Regions from separate parts of the Homo sapiens genome. Here region 2 is linked to region 1. The links are contacts of gene promoters, found by promoter capture Hi-C in human tissues and cell types (Jung and others, 2019). All regions are on one chromosome and are shown on one strand. Each heading gives the region's core, a stretch centred on a gene start or on the middle of the fragment in contact. The rest is flanking DNA. Distances are from core to core; before and after follow the strand shown.

The links. Contacts are between HindIII fragments. The study calls those that stand out against the background at their distance.
Region 2: a contact is called between a fragment that was not itself captured here and the fragment with the promoter of RNF182 in region 1, in 1 of the 25 tissues and cell types used here (lymphoblastoid cells).

What each region holds. Positions count from the first base shown.
Region 1 is chr6:13,922,561-13,927,032 of GRCh38, reverse strand. RNF182 (ring finger protein 182) reads right to left here and starts at 2,081. Exons shown (of 3, transcript NM_152737.4): 1 at 2,010-2,081. RefSeq lists an enhancer at 2,686-3,186. The HindIII fragment of the contact is 4,770 bases long and covers 1-3,325 here.
Region 2 is chr6:15,223,445-15,227,916 of GRCh38, reverse strand. No RefSeq gene overlaps it. Among named protein-coding and RNA genes, the nearest start is that of JARID2-DT, 20 kb to the left of the region's middle. The HindIII fragment of the contact is 9,363 bases long and covers 1-4,472 here.

The DNA of each region.
Region 1 (4,472 bases), core at 832-3,331:
TGCCCGTGTGAGCTAGCAGCAAAGGCAAAGCACCGGTCCTTACTGTGCTAAATTCACCATGGATATCTCCGTTCTTCAGCACTCAGATTAAGGGCCACAACATAAATGTTTAGGCTAGAACTCACAGTGTGGGTTTCATCTGGCAGAAAGCACGGACCAAGTCCTTGAACTTGAATACTGGTTTTGCTAACAAAGATCTGAATAAAGCTGTTCTGTTGGTCCCTCAGGAAAAAAAAAAAAACACACACACACACACAAACACACAAAATAATTTATTTTTAGTACAAAACATAAAACTACATTCTCTGTCTATATAATGTGCCTAGGCTTCAATATCCTATTTGCTGTTCATGCTTAAGTGAGAAAATACTTTTCTCTCCCGTTTATCTTCTCAAAACAGATCTACTTCGTTTTAATCAATGTACGATTTTATTACCGTCATGAAAGAGTATTTAGCAGAGCATCTGTGAATCTTCCACAGGTAAAATTCAGTTTAAAAACAAGCCCAATTGTGAAATAACCTGCAAACTGTTAATTGCAACTTCAATCCTTTAGTTTCCAATACAATCTTCTAATGAAGTGGCATTACTTGAAGTTGCTGGCAAATATGAACAGACTGAGAAACCTAGTAATCAGCAGGCTAACAGGTGTTGAAATCCCAAAAGAGGGAAGAGGAATATTAAATAATCACTCTTTGCCTGACACCTCAAGTAGCTGTAATATGCAGAATTCCAATCAACTTAACTGCAATTCAAAATGATCAGTGGTACTGTTTTCATTAATTACTCTCTAGCAAAAATATAATTTCTTGCATTCCATATAGTTCTTTAAATGACCTATTCCAACTTATACATTATTTTACTAAGTTGGATATACAATTTTATATGTTAGATTATTTTCCAGTTATCAATATGACATCTCATATTGTTTAAATATGATTTAAAACAAATCTTATTAACATATATACAATTTCCTTCTGAATTGATCAACTGTATTTCTGAAAATGTATCTGTTTTCTTTCATATTACTACATGTAAGATGATGTCTAAGTACCAAAAAAAAAAGTCTTCACAGTCACAATTTAAATCTGTGCTTCGCGTCTGCAACAAACTATCACGAAATGATTGCAAGGGTTGGGGCCACTGAGAAAGGTACCTATAACCTATCCAGTGCCCCAGTGGCAACCGCATCGTGGTCCTCATCATCCCACTCATAAACACCGATGCAAACACCGCCCAGCTACCTGCCTCCAGAGGTGCTTTGGATTGCCTCCCTACACATAAAAACAAAAGGCACTTTCCAGTTCCTTACAGCATGAACACAATACCTTCTAGAAACAAAAGCAATGACCTCGGTGCCAAGTATCTCCTTGACAAAGTATCGGTACTGCTCTACATTCTGGTCTTGCTAGTCGGGGAAAGCCGGGCTACCCTTACCATCCAGTTATAGGTGCAACTGCACCTTCCAAAGAAAAAAAGGTCTTTCGATTCAATATCCAAACGAACTTCAGAAGCCTCCTCAAAATGCTTCAGCCACAGGCATAAAAATGGGCTCACTTTTCAGAGATTCGTAAAAATCTTTCGCTTGTCCCTCTTACTACCCTCCCAACCCCTCCTCAAAGAGAATGCCATGAAACATGAAAGTCCAAAGGTAAATACTTTCATACCTTTTTTTCCCCCAAAAGCCTCGATGGCACGCCAAGAAGGAAAATAACAACAACAACAGAGGGGCAGCTCCCTGAGCAGGTGCAGCCCGCGCGGGCGCTCCGCAGCCGCCCTCCGCCGCACAGCCCCTCAAGTTGGTGCCAGGACGGCGGCCCCCGTGGTGCCCGGAGGGAGACTCCGCGCGCGGGCCCCGGCGCCGCTCGGCCCGAAGTTTGCCGCCCCCTCTCCTCGGCGCGCTTGGGCGGCCCGGCGCCGTCCAGGACTGCGGGGCTGGCTGCTGCCCCAGCGTTGGGGAGGCCCGGCGTCCCGCCGACCCCTCCCCGGCCGCGGGCGCGATCGCCTTACCTGGCCGGCGGCGGCCCAGGGCCCGGGAGCCGCTCCGGCTGCGGCGGCGCCTGGGAGGGGAGGGAGGTTCCCGTGGAGGAGGAGCTCGCGCGAGGAGCTAGCGGGCTGGCGGGCGGGCGGCTTTGTCTCTACGGCGCTGAGCCGCCGACCCTGCGTCACCATGGCAACCGCCGGGGCCCCCCCGGCCCTTCCCCTCAGCAGTCCGGGTATTCGGAGAGGACAAGGACCCCCGATGGGCCGCCACCACCACAAACACGCCCCTCTCTCAGTCTCCCTCACAAACCGCCTGTTTCTCCCCAGCGAGAGGGGAAGGCTAAAGCGGAGCGAGCCCAGGGCCAAGTGGTATTCGCATCCTAGTAGGCACTCCTTTGCTTCCCCACACTGGACATTCCAACTCCCGTCGCACCACCATCCCCCCCACAGACACCCTCCACCACTACCACCACCACACCTTTCTCCTGTGGAGCTGTACCCTCAAAATGGAAATTCACTTAAGGGAGGAGAAAGAGCAATGCAAAGTGATAAAGTGTTGAGCAACTGGTACTCGGTTCTCCTGTTGCAACTGCCGCAGCATGCACGGAGCTGCCAAGGGACGCCGTGCCGCCTCCTCCCTCTCCCCCTCCTCCTCCTCTCTCTTTTAGCAAGCTTTGCCTCTGCTGGATGTGGTCTCACTCCACCCAACCCGTGTATCTGTCTTGTTGAGGGCTCCCGTAGGAGAGAGGGGAAAGGGGGCTTTATCTCTGATGTAAACACTGGATACACTTGTAACCTCAGAAGCTGAAACACAACTTTCAGGCTGCAGTATGGATCTCAGCTGCTGCCACACTGCGCAGCTACTGGCTGTGACCGCTAAGCATCTACCATGAGCCCTGAGTGACTCTGTGCCAAGGACTGGTCACGTACTGCAGGCCATGGCACTCAGGAGCAGAGAAAAGAAAGCTAACTTTTTCCTCTCCTGAGGAAATTCTTAGAGAGGGAGAGAAAAGTACCAGCAGACCCTTGGTCATGCTTCCTCTAAAGGACGAACTAGAGGGCAGCCTCCATGGGGGGAGTGAGTCATCCCTCCATACTGTTTTCTTGAAAGATCCGTTGCTGAATCCAAAAGCTACAGTGTCTTTCTTCAAACCCTGGGGAACATGACATTTATTTTTTGGCATTTGTGAATCACCAAAGGAATGTCAATGATTTATAATAAAATCCACGGTAGCTGATGTTTTCTGGGTTTACTACTTGAGAAGCCACAAAGCAGAACAATGTTATTGCCATTTGAAGGTACACCTATATTAACTAATGAAAAGATAAGATCTATTTCATGGTGGAAAAGGAAAACAGTTTGTTCCTCGGAGAGACTGGCCACTTTCTTGTAATGGGAATATTCTGAATGAAGTCAATAATATTCCAGATGAAGTCAAAAGACAAGGTCTTTTTGGCAGGCCATTAAGCATTTGGCAATACCTGCCAGAATTCAAAATGCACATACATTTCTCCCAGCTATCTCAATTCTAGAGATCTGTCATACAGAAACACACAAATGTGTAATGATAGATATAAAAGGATATGCATTGCAGAAGTTTTGTAATAGTAAATGTTTGAAACAACTTATATGCCCATCAATAGTGATATGGTTAAATAATGTGGCACTTCATACCATGTAATACTATGCATCCATTAATAAGAATAAAATATATAAAATTCATAGATATTGATTTCTTATTAAATGGAAAAGGGGGGCTCAGAACCGTATGTGTGGGTGATCCCATTCTGTACAAAAAAACTGGATATATAGGAACAGAACAAAAACATAGGGATAAAGGTCTATAAGAATGCCTACCTAATTGCTAGAAGTGGTAACCTGTTAACTACAAAAAAAATTGAAGGGACAGTTACCTCTTACGATGTACAATTTAGTACACATATTTGGTTTGTTTGGCTTTTTCAAATGAGCATTTATTAGTAATTTATCAATGAAGAAGCAAAAACAAAAAGCTTTAATAAATGTTTGTTGACCTGCATGCACATTACTGCCTGATCAAAAACTGAATACAGAACAGGGAGGGACCATTGACTTGGCCATCCCTGCCCTCAGCTGAAGGCTTGGAAAAGTCCACGTTGTGTCCCCACTTAGAGCATTGCTTAGTGACCTGGTCCTGCGTTATTCTGTGAGACATTCTTCCAGACATTCATTTTTCCAAAAGAGGTTTAGCTTTATCTTAAGGTCTGCTTCCATTCTGCCTCTTGGAGAAAATTAAAAGACTTGTCAGGAAACCATCTTAAAATGTGCCACCTTACTTACCAGGGGATATCATTTGAATAGGTTAAGTGGCAGCTTTTAGTCTGTTTAGCTAAACTGAAACTGAAGATACTAAAGCTTAAAAATTAATGTGTGGATACATGACTAGTCTTTCTTATTCTCACCATTTTTGAAATGAGGTTAAAATAATGAATTTGCTTTCCTAAAAAGAT
Region 2 (4,472 bases), core at 985-3,484, 1.3 Mb before region 1:
CTTGGTCACTCTTAACCAAAAGCGTAACTCCCACCTTAGACCTGGAGGCGAATCCTTAAAAGCTGTGATTTTAAAGCCAGCTGTAGTGGAGAGTCGGGGTGGGGGGGTGGCACAACTTCCAAAATCCAAGGTTAATAGGCTGTGAATTGCCACTTTCTTTGCTCATTGTCTGTGCTTCAACAGTTCCTTTAACCTACTGTCATTCAGCTTGGGGAGGAGAAGAAAGTAGGAATGGCACCAGCTGCAAGGGAGAGGCTGACAACAATGCTCTCCCCTCCCCTCGCCCCCCACTCCCACCCCGCTTGTCCCCCCAAAGCACCAGGCATTCAGTTATACAGTATATATTTATACAGCCTACCCAATGCGAATTCAAATTTATTTCCAAGTCATTAGGGCCAATTACTCACCTTTGGGCCCTGTAATATCATTTGTTTCCTGCCAAACCGAATGTTTTTCCTGTCGCAAATATGATAAATCCTGCATAGTGACGTTCAATCATGTTTAAACTGATTCAGATTGTGGTAGGAATTGGGTTGTATGCATGGATGGACTAAGTCATGAAATGTAGACCTCATGGATGATTATTTTAATTTGAGAATAATTCAGTCCTATGGAGGAGAATTGGCTTACTCAGAAGGTCCTACTATGAATACCGGTACTACTTATTTCCATTAATTTGGCCACGACTTGAAAGAATGCAAATTTTTTTCCCTTATTTTTGCCATTAAGGACTCAATTTGCTTTCTTCTCTAGCTTTCAAAAATATATTGAATTCAGCCGGGCACAGGGGCTCACACCTGTAATCCCAGCACTTTGGGAGGCCAAGCAAGGTGGATCACCTGAGGTCAGGAGTTCGAGACCAGCGTGGCCAACATGGTAAAACCCTGTCTCTACTAAAAATACAAAATCAGCCAGGCATGGTGGCACATTCCTGTAATCCCAGCTACTTGGGAGTCTCAGGCAGGAAAATAGCTTGAATCCGGGAGGCAGAGGTTACAGTGAGCCAAGATCCTGCCATTGCACTCCAGCCTGAGCAAAAACTCCAACTCAAAAAAAAAAAAAAAAGGCTGGGCTTGGTGGCTCACACCTGTAATCCTAGCAATTTGGGAGGCCAAGGTGGATGGATCATTTGAGGTCAGGAGTTCGAGACTGGCCTGGCCAACATGGTGAAACCCTGTCTCTACTGAAATACAAAAATTAGCTGGGCATGGTGTTGCGCGCCTGTAATCCCAGCTACTCAGGAGGCTGAGGCAGAAGAATCGCTTGAACCTGGGAGGCAGAGGTTGCAGTGAGCCAAGATCGCACCACTGCACTCCAGCCTGGGCCACAGCTAGACTCTGTCTCAAAAAAAAAAAAAAAAAAAGACTCAAGCCATCTGCTTAGTCCTCCCAAAGTGTTGGGATTACAGACATGAGCCACGGCGCCCAGCCCCTGTGTGTGATGTCTGATCTTGACATTGAAGGGAGTAAAAAGTCATGTAAAAAATGGCCCTTGCCTATAAGGAACAAAAGTATATCCTCAATAAAATACTGCCTGCCCTGTGGGAGACTGCAGTCTACATGAAAAAAAAAAAGGGCCAGGTGTGGTGGCTCACGTGTGTAATCCCAGCACTTTGGGAGGCTGGGGCAGGTGGATTGCCTGAGCTCAGGAGTTCCAGACCAGCCTGGGCAACACAGTGAAACCCCATCTATAAGAAAATACAAAAAATTAGCTGGGCGTGGTGGCATGCACCTGTAGTCCTAGCTACTCAGGAGGCTGAGGCAGGAGAATGGCTTGAACCCAGGAGGTGGAAGTTGCAGTGAGCTGATATCATACCACTGCACTCCAGCCTGGGCGACAGAGTGAGACTCTGTCTCAAAAAAAAAAAAAAAAAAACAAAAAAACAAAAAAACAAAAAAACCAGATATGCACATGGAAAAAAAAGACATACAGAAATTGTACATCAGTGCCCATGATAAGTTTCCAAGAAGGTCCAGCCCATAAATTCTCAGGGTTTCTTCCCCAGACCAGGGGTATCAGGGTCTCTTATTATTTGTTGTAAATGCAAATTACCCAGCCCTTCTGAATGAGAAACTGGGGCGGCGGGTGGGGGGGCACCCAGCAATGTGTGTTTTAACAAGCTGGCTAGGGAACTGTGAGGTTCATTCAGGTTTGAGAATTCAGGTTTATGTAGATGTTTTAGTTCCCTGTTCCTTGCAGGAGTGATGTGGAAGGAACCAGCAAGGAAGCTGCAAACCGATTCTGGCCTAGCAGCTCCTTTTTTTTTTTTTTTTTTTTATGGAGTCTTGCTCAGCTGCCCAGGCTGGAGTGCAGTGGCTCAATCTCGGCTCACTGCAACCACTGTCTCCCAGGTTCAAGTGATTCTCCTGTCTCAGCCTCCCAAGTAGCTGGAATTATAGGCAACCGCCATCATGTCTGGCTAATTTTTATATTTTAGTAGAGACGGGGTTTCACCATGTTGGCCAGGCTGGTCTTGAATTCCTGACCTCAGGTGAACCATCCTCCTCGGCCTCCCAAAGTACTAGGATTACAGGCTCGAGCCACTGCACCTGACTGGCAGCTCCTTTATAAGATTTTAATTTCCCAAACTACCTAGTAAATTTCGTTATAGATAACACTCTCTTCAACTATAGTGGTTTTTGTTGTTGTTTTGTTTTTTTTCAGAATCCCACTCCATTGCCAGGCTGGAGTGCAGTGGCGTGATCTCAGCTCACTGCAACCTCCACCTCCCAGGTTCAAGCGATTCTCCTGCCTCAGCCTCCTGAGTAGCTGGGACTACAGGTGCGCACCACCATGCCCAGCTAATTTTTGTATTTTTAGTAGAGACGGGGTTTCACCATATAGGCCAGGATGGTCTCGATCTCCTGACCTCGTGATCCACCTTCCTCTGCCTCCCAAAGTGCTGTGATTACAGGCGTGAGCTACCACGCCCAGCCTATAGTGTTTTTCTTCAGTCACTGGTGTTAAAGGGTATTTATGTGTGATTGTCTAATTACCTCCCTTCATTAGACTACAAACCCCAAGAGGGTTCGACTTTGGGTTCTACTTCATTCCCAACTCCTGATAGTTTGCTGACGTTAAATGTTAATATGTTTCTTGCTGTCCCAAAATTTCATATTTTCCCCTAATTTGTTGTAGATATATTAAGGACCTGTTATGTATCTGATCTCTCTTTAAAAAACAAAAAAAAGAGAGAGAAATGGGGTTTCACCATGTTGCCCAGGCTGGTCTCAAAGTCCTGGGCTCAAGCCATCCGCTTAGTCTTCCCAAAGTGTTGGGATTACAAGCCTGAGCCACGGCGCCCAACCCCTGTGTCTGATGCCTGATCTTGATATTGAAGGGAGTAAAAAGTCATGTAAAAAATGACCCTTGCCTATAAGGAACAAAATTATATCCTCAAGAGAAATTAAATAACAGCATAAGGTGGCCTATGATTATGTACAAATAAACATTTTAGATTAGATTAAGAAATATCATAGAATTCATAGCCGGGCATGGTGGCGGGTGCCTGTAATCCCAGCTACTGGACTGGGAGGCTGAGGCAGGAGAATGGCGTGAACCCGGGAGGCGGAGCTTGCAGTGAGCCAAGATCGCACCACTGTATTCCAGCCTGGGCAACAGAGCGAGACTGGGAAAAAACAAAAGAAAGAAAGAAATCCCATACAATTCAGAAAAGAGGCAGTGAGAGATCCAGCAGGTTGAGAAAGCTTCCTACAAAGGGCAGGACTTGAGTAGGACTTTCAAATTTAACAGTGACGTTTAAGTCTCCAGAACAATGGAGAAAGTGAGAGGAAGGCGAAACAAAGGGCACTAGTGGCGTGGAGCAAGATCTGTGCATATTCCAGGAGCCTCAGCCTGGAGACAAAGGTGCCCTTGAAATGGGAAAGGGCTGGAGTGGAGTATGAGGTGTCTACTGGAGCCCTGAATGCCAGATTCACTTGGAACTGTTTCCCTTTAGTAGTCTGTGCCTTGGTTTCTGTTGTCTCGGGGACAGGGCAGATGAAAGGAAGACTGAGGGCCTTGTGCACAAGTTATTGGAGGTAGAGAGGAAAAGAAGAAAAGAACCTCCAGAGCTGGGGGCAGTAGCTCACACCTGTAATGCCAGGACTTAGGGAGGCAGAAGTGAGACGATGACTTGAGCCCAGGAGTCCAAGACCTGTCTGGGCAACAAACATAGCGAGACCCCATTCTCCACAAAAAGTTTAAAAAAAAAAAGGAAGGATCAAAACAAACAAACAAGAAAAGAACCCCCACCCCAAAAGGATCTCTGGTAGTAGGCTCAGTCATTCAGCCTCATTTATAGGGTGATACTCTGGTGTCCTGAGGTGGAGTGGAGGGCTCTTTCCTGAAGAAGCTCACAGCAGACGGATAGGAGGCCATTGCACTCCAGCCTGGGCAACAAGACTGAAACTCCGTCTCAAAAAATAAAAATAAAATAAAAACAAGAGTGAGCTTGGGCAGCTCAGAGAATG